Linked DNA regions of Homo sapiens: region 2 is linked to region 1. Evidence: promoter capture Hi-C in human tissues and cell types (Jung and others, 2019). All regions are on one chromosome and are shown on one strand. The core of a region is centred on a gene start or on the middle of the fragment in contact, and the rest is flanking DNA. Distances in the headings are between cores, read along the strand shown.

What was found. Contacts are between HindIII fragments. The study calls those that stand out against the background at their distance.
Region 2: a contact is called between a fragment that was not itself captured here and the fragment with the promoter of TAC3 in region 1, in 1 of the 25 tissues and cell types used here (aorta).

What each region holds. Positions count from the first base shown.
Region 1 is chr12:57,014,669-57,018,480 of GRCh38, reverse strand. It overlaps TAC3 (tachykinin precursor 3), which reads left to right and starts at 1,952. Exons shown (of 7, transcript NM_013251.4): 1 at 1,952-2,094; 2 at 2,679-2,797. The coding sequence starts at 2,684. The HindIII fragment of the contact is 18,684 bases long and covers 1-2,410 here.
Region 2 is chr12:56,571,754-56,575,565 of GRCh38, reverse strand. RBMS2 (RNA binding motif single stranded interacting protein 2) reads right to left here. Exons shown (of 14, transcript NM_002898.4): 5 at 3,711-3,812. Among named protein-coding and RNA genes, the nearest start is that of RBMS2, 52 kb to the right of the region's middle. The HindIII fragment of the contact is 8,132 bases long and covers 1-3,812 here.

The sequences.
Region 1 (3,812 bases), core at 703-3,202:
CTGGGTTCAAGCCATTCTCCTGCCTTAGCCTCCTGAGTAGCTGGGATTACAGGGGTGTGCCACCACGCCCAGCTAATTTTTGTATTTTTAGTACAGACAGGGTTTCACCTTGTTGGTCAGGCTGGTCTCAAATTCCTGACCTTGTGATCCACCTGCCTCGGCCTCCCAAAGTGCTAGGATTACAGGCGTGAGCCACTGTGCCCGGCCTTTTTTTTTTTTTTTTTTTTTTAGGAAGTTGTATTTTGGGCTTTTTAACTAGCTTGTTTTTTAATTAGATTATTGCCTTTAGGGTGGAGCCCTTTAATAAAAAGGGGGAAGAAAACATAGGTTTTAGGGCCTCATATTTAAATGGGTAAAGCAGGCATAGCTGGAAGGCAGAATACAGAACCCCCCTAATCAAGGATCTCATTTTTATATTGAATCCTAGGCCCCCCAAAAGAGGGAAATGTCATGGGACGAGATGTGTGGCATTTTTATCGAGTGCCCCACTGTAAAGATGCTCCCCCAAGGCTGGCAGGCAGCCCAGTGCCGATTAGCCCACTCTGTGCTTAGTCTTTTTTTTTTTTTTTTTTTTGAGGTGGAGTCTTGCTCTGTTGCCCAGGCTGGAGTGCAATGGCGTGATCTCGGCTCAATGCAATCTCTGTCTCGTGGGTTCAAGCGATTCTCCTGCCTCAGCCTCCCAAGTAGCTGAGATTACAGGCACCAGCCACTATGCTCAGCTAATTTTTTGTATTTTTAGTAGAGATGGGGTTTCAACATGTTGGCCAGGCTGGTCTCGAACTTCTGACCCCAAGTGATCCGCCCGCCTCGGCCTCCCAAAGTGCTGGGATTACAGGCGTGAGCCACCATGCCTGGCGTGCTTAGCCTATTTTTAATGGGAGTTTCATCCTCAATGGTGAGTGCTTTCATTGTCTTTAGGTGCCCCAGACCATGTTTTTAAAAATTTAAATGCACGAAGAAATAAGTAGCCCTGTATAGTAGTAATACTTTGTTGTGAATAACTGTCATAAGTCATCTCTAAAACTGTATTTTTTATCTAGTTATTATATATGACTAGCTATATGTCTAGTTTTTTAAATAATACAAAGTAATTTATTTTTGGCATCCTCAAAAACCAAAGAGATTAGGTAATGTAGTGTAGAAGAGAGCAGAGCTTTAGACCTGAGAAGAATCTGCCCATGACTCGTGAAACTCCACAACGAAAGTAGGAGACCCCAAAAAAGGGGTGAGTGTCATCTTTTCTGAATTTTTTTTTTTTTTTAGATGGAGTCTTGCTCTGCCACCAGGCTGGAGTGCAGTGGTGCAATCTCGGCTCAGCCTCCCGAGTAGCTAGGATTACAGGCACGCGCCACCATGACCAGCTAATTTTTGTATTTTTAGTAGAGACAGCGTTTCACCATGTTGGCCAGGATGGTCTCGATCTCTTGACCTCGTGATCCGCCCGCCTCGGCCTCCCAAAGTGCTGGGATTACAAGCGTGAGCCACTGCACTCGGCCGGTCAGATAATTTTTTTGGCCAGTTTTTACATAGAGTAATTTTAGGTTTTATGGCTGGCTTTGGGGCAAAGGGGTTCTGGTTTTTATAGCTGGTCTTGGGGGAGAATGGAACCGAGTGACAAGAGGACAAGAGAGGGTCAGAGAAAAACTTCTGCTTCTGAGGCGGCTATTGAGGCCTTCATTTTGGAGTATTGTCCTCTAAGCCCCAGCAGTGTCAAACTGTACACAAACCATACACAGCAGCCAGCTCGGGTGCTGTTAGGAAATGGTCTCACTGCTGGGTCTGTGGGGTATGTGTGTGTCTGGGTGTGTGGCTACTGTCTGCATCCTCCTCCCCCCTACAGCCTCCCCGCCTCCCCTCCAGCCACCCTGGGATTGGTGACTCTCAGCCCCTCCCCTCAGCTCCCCTAGACCCTCCCAGAGCCTTTATCAGGGAGCTGGGACTGAGTGACTGCAGCCTTCCTAGATCCCCTCCACTCGGTTTCTCTCTTTGCAGGAGCACCGGCAGCACCAGTGTGTGAGGGGAGCAGGCAGCGGTCCTAGCCAGTTCCTTGATCCTGCCAGACCACCCAGCCCCCGGCACAGAGCTGCTCCACAGGTAGGCAAGTGGGAGAATGCTGGATGGACCAGAGCTGGCACCAGGGGACAGGAGCCAGCGTCAGGAGGGAATAAAGCAGATGGCAGCCTCTGATAGGGGAGCAGGGGACTGGGAAGGTGAGCACAAAGCACCTGTAGGGCCGAGAGCTGGTTGGTGTTTGGAGCCTGTGGCTACAGACTCATTCTTTCATACCAGAAAGTTTTTGCCTAAGTCTTGGGATTATCTAGTACTGGAAAATAGCATCCAGGATCCCTCCTCCAGCTGACTGAGGAAACAGACCAGTCCATGTCCTACAAATCTATCATCTTTCTTGGGAGCTAGAGTCCTCCTGGCACCACTATAGCATTGCACATCTCCTGGGGAGATATCTGATGGGGTAGCAGGGAAACTAAGCCCAAGGGCTGTACCCCCTTCTCAGAAATACTTTCCACCCTCTCTCCAGACCAGGGCTTGGACAGTGGAGTTGGGGGCTGGGGAAGCAGGGTCAAGCCAAGCTGCTGGTAATGAATGTCTCTTGTGTCTTCACCCATGCTGTATCTTCCTCTTCTCTCCTTTACCTGAGTCCTGTCCCTTTGCTCTCCCAGGCACCATGAGGATCATGCTGCTATTCACAGCCATCCTGGCCTTCAGCCTAGCTCAGAGCTTTGGGGCTGTCTGTAAGGAGCCACAGGAGGAGGTGGTTCCTGGCGGGGGCCGCAGCAAGGTAAGTCTCCCCTGGCAGAGTACTGGGGACATCACGGGAACTTGGGACTCTGCCTGTCTGGACAGCTGTAGTGAGGAAACTGGGGTGGGGGGGTTGTCCGTCAGAGGGCATTTTGCCTCCCTTTGGATTTCTTTGTTTCTCTGGTCCTTTCATGTTCCCACTGTCTCCAGGTGTGTTTGTGTCTCTGTATCTCTGCATGTCTTTGACACCTTGTACATAAAAGGTGCCCTACAAATATGTTGTTTGGTGGGTTGATTGATGGGAGACTTGGTGATTGGATGGTACTGTGAGGGGTGAGCTAGGGTGGTCTAAGGCTCTCTATAGTCTACCTCAGGTCCCTTTGCAAGGGACAGATCTCTTCTATTTCCTGGATGGTATGAAACAGTCAGAATTTCTTTCCCAAATGGTTATTTGTGTGCTATTTTACCTATCAGTTATGTGTATTGTTTTATTTTCAAAATGCAAATAAATTCCCTTATCTTTTGCTCATCCACCCCCAGTAACCTCAGGTGCTTCTAAGATCCCAACCCCTTCCTTCTTCTCTTTTCTCCCTTGCCCGCCTCTATCCTCTGCTTAGTCAGGATAGGAAAACAACAACAGCAAAAAAACCAGATTGAGCCTCGATTTCCACAGTTCCTTTACGAAAAAGAATAGGAATTGTCAGGGTAGGGGTACAGGGGGAGGATAGGGAGGAAGTCTTTTCAAGGTTTTGAAATGACAGCAATTACATCGGTACAAATGCTTTTAAGATGATTGCGGGTGGGACTTATTACAAATTCAATGTGTGAAGTTTAACTGCCTCTTCAGCTCAAATCTGTTCAGCATCTCATTATAGGAGGTGGGCAGAGTATTCAACAATTTGGGAAAAGTGGCTGCCTGAACACCACATGCTGGGCCAAGGGAGTTATCACCAGGGCAGCCTTGCAGGTGGCAGCAGTTGTGCCATATCCAAAAGGCCAGAACCGTTAAAAAAAAAAACACCCAGGGGAGTGCCAAGTATGGGCTGGACACCGTT
Region 2 (3,812 bases), core at 809-3,308, 440 kb after region 1:
GGGGGGTGTAGGGGTAAGGGGGACTAGGAAGTGGCTGGGGGTCCTATGGGCCCATAGCTCCATCCCCAGGGCAAGACCCACCCCATCTGCCTCCAGCCCTACCCATATTCCTGTATTGATTTATTTATTGAGACAGGGTCTCACTCTGTAGCCCAGGCCAGAGTGCAGTGGTGTGATCATGGTTGACTGCAGTTTTGACCTCCTGGGCTCAGGTGATCCTCCCACCTTAGCCTCCCAGGTAGCTGGAACTATAGGCACGTGCCACCATGCTCAGCTAATTTTTTTTGTTTGTTTTGTTTTTGTAGAGATGGGGTTTCACATGTTGCCCAGGCTGGTCTTGAACTCCTGAGCTCAAGTGATCTGCCCGCCTCAGCCTCCCAAAGTCGGGTTTTTTTTTGAGACGAGTCTCACTCTGTTGCCCAGGCTGAAGTGCATGTCGCCCAGGCTGAAGCGCCTTGGTGCAATCTGGGCTCACTGCAAGCTCCGCCTCCCGGGTTCACACCATTCTCCAGCATCAGCCTTCCGAGTAAGCTGGGACTACAGGCGCCCGCCACCACGCCCGGCTAATTTTTTGTATTTTTAGTAGAGATGGGGTTTCACCATGTTAGCCAGGATGATCTCGATCTCCTGACCTCATGATCCGCCCGCCTCGGCCTCCCAAAGTGCTAGGATTATAGGCGTGAGTCACGGAGTCCGGCCAAAGTCAGGTATTTTTTAAATGAATGATTTGTGTATCAGATTGCTATGATATTTAGATCTCATTTGAATACATTTTTAAACGAAGTAACAGTTTTATTTTAAATGCCAATATTTATAATTTGCTGGAAATCATACTTTGCATGAATCTGAATATATGAAGAAAACTTGTAGACATTAACATAGAAACATATAAGAGATTTCATAGTTTTTCAAAAGTCTCTAAAGCCACAGTTCCTAAACTGTGCTCTCAGGCACTGTGGGTGGCTGTGGTGAACTCAGAGGGTCACAACGAGGGTTATTTTAACTCTTTGAAGAAAAACAGCAATATCTGTTGGAGAATGTGTGCACTACTAACTCAAAATTGTACACTGCTTCAACATTAGTTCCCCCTACAATCCTTTTGATAGATAACATCATATTTTCACAAAGCTGGGTTTAAATAGTTGCTATGACAAAAGCAAATACCATAAGAAAACCAATACGTAACAGGAAATGAGTGTGTAGGTGTCCATTCTGATACCAAATTTTGAGAAGTTGTGCAATTCCAACAGGCACATATTCCATTAGTAAGTATAGTTAGAATGAAATAAAGACATGCTCTCTTTCAATGTTTGTGTATTATTTTTTCAAACAGCTACAAAGTTGTTAAAGCATAAACACTTCTTAAGCTGTATGGACCATGAAGTTACTGCTGTCAGGAAATTTTTTTAAAAAGTTGTGTGGACTGGCTGGGCGCAGTGGCTCATGCCTGTAATCCTAGCACTTTGGGAGGCTGAGGCGGCTGGATAACCTGAGGTCAGGAGTTCGAGAACAGCCTGGACAACCTGGTGAAACCACATCTTTACTAAAAATACAAAAATTAGCTGGGCATGGTGGCGGGCGCCTGTAATCCCAGTTACTCAGGAGGCTGAGGCAGGAGAATCACTTGAACCCGGGAGGCAGAGGTTGCAGTGAGCCAAGATTGTGCCATTGCACTCCAGCCTGGGCAACAGAGTGAGACTTCGTCTCAACAACAACAACAACAACAACAAAAATACAAAAATTAGCCAGGCGTGGTGGTACGCACCTGTGGTACGCGACAGAGCGAGACTCCGTCTCAAAAAAAAAAAAAAAAAGTGTGGACCATTCAGTTACTTAATAAATTGAACTGTTAGGTATTTCTTTTGGTCTAGGGTGAAAAACTATTAGATAACTAAGGGTGGCACAAACTGAGAAAGGTTAAGAACCTCTGCTCAACCTGCAAAATAAGTTCGATGGTCCCAAGCCTAGGAACTCTCCTTTAGATATACACGGGATTGCCAGCAGGTGGTGCTACTAAGCTTGAGTCAGCTGGGGAAGAGGAACTATTTCTTTTCTTCTTCTTCTTTTTTTTTTTTTTTTTTTTTTTTTTGAGATGGCGTCTCGCTTTGCTGCCCAGGCTGGAATGCAATGGCGCGATCTCGGCTTACTGCAACCTCCGCCTCCCGGGTTCAAGTGATTCTCCTGCCTCAGCCTCCCGAGTAGCTGGGACTACAGGAGCCCGCCACCATACCCAGCTAATTTTTGTATTTTTAGTAGAGACGGGGTTTCACCAGGTTGGCCAGGCTGGTCTCAAACTCCTGACCTCAGGTGATCCACCCGCCTCAGCCTCCCAAAGTGCTGGGATTACAGGCGTGAGCCACCACGCCCAGCCAAGAGAAACTATTTCTTGTTCCCAAGGTCTGAAACACTCAGAGTAAGGGGGTGTTCACGGACCAGACAAGATATAAAGCAAAAAGGGGTGCTTGGCTCACTTAGTCCAGTCATTTTGAAACTAAAAAAAAAAAAAAAAGTCAAAAGAATCTCCTTTCAAATAAAATCTTAAAATAAATAAAAGCAGAGCCATTTCTTAAGTGGGCTAAGGGAGGCTGATACCCTACGACAGTGAGGGCAGATACCAAAGCCCAAAGAAGGGCACCTGGGAAAACTGCAGGTATAGGGAATACTGTGGGAAAATTACTCATCTGAATCAATCTCCACTTCAGAGAGTGAACCAAGGCTCACAAGCTCTGATATCACAGGTGCAGAATTGTTCTGGAATACAGGTCTCCCAACAGATCTGAAAAGGAAGATCAAAACTTCTACCTCATCCTACTGCTCTCAAAGCCAGAAGGATCAGGGCTCTGCTCTAACACCCACTCCTGTAAGACCCTGGGCAAATCATTTCTACTGAAGAGTTCACTTTCCTCATCTGTAAGATAGAGAATATTTATCTCACAGGGATGTTGTAAAGATTAAATGAGACAAGATGAGAAATACTCAGTAAACTATAAGAATATACAGAATTTTTTACTCTGGTTGGGTCTGGATTAAAGGAACAAAGCCTAGAGTACTTCCCTAGGAAGTAGTAGGGAGCTTAGCCGAGTGTGGTGGCTCATGCCTGTAATCCCAACTGCTTAGGTGGCTGAGGCAGGAGGATCACTTGAGCCCAGATGTTCAAGAGCAGCCTGGGCAACACAGCAAGACCCCATCTTTATAAAAAAAATATTTAGGTGGGGCTAATGGGTTTTTGAGTATTGTAACCTATAATAAAATGAACCTTTTTTTTTTTTTTTTTTTTGAGACAGAGTCTCACTCTGTTCCCCAGGCTGCAGTGCAGTGGTGCGATCTCAGCTCACTGCAACCTCTGCCTCCCAGGTTCAAGCAATTCTCCTGCCTCAGCCTCCTGAGTAGCTGGGATTACAGGCATGCGCCACCACGTCTGGCTAATTTTTGTATTTTTAGTAGAGACGGGGTTTCACCATGTTTGCCAGGCTGGTCTCAAACTCCTGACCTCAGGTGATATGCCTGCCTTGGCCTCCTAAAGTGCTGGGATTACAGGTGTAAGCCACCGCACCTGGCCTAAAATGAACTTTTGACTTACCATCAAGTATTTTTGAATAATAGTAAAGTATTTTGACCTTGTGTGGGAAAGGCATAGATTTTGTTTTCTGGTGACCCCCAAGTGACATTTGTTATTAACCTCATCATTTCCCCACTCCTGCCATCCTCACCTTGCAAAGCCAACACCTCTGCTGGTCCCACTGGTATCTCGAAGGATACGGGTGGAGATAACCTGGCCAAAGGGCTTCAGCATCCCCTCCAGTTCCTGCTCA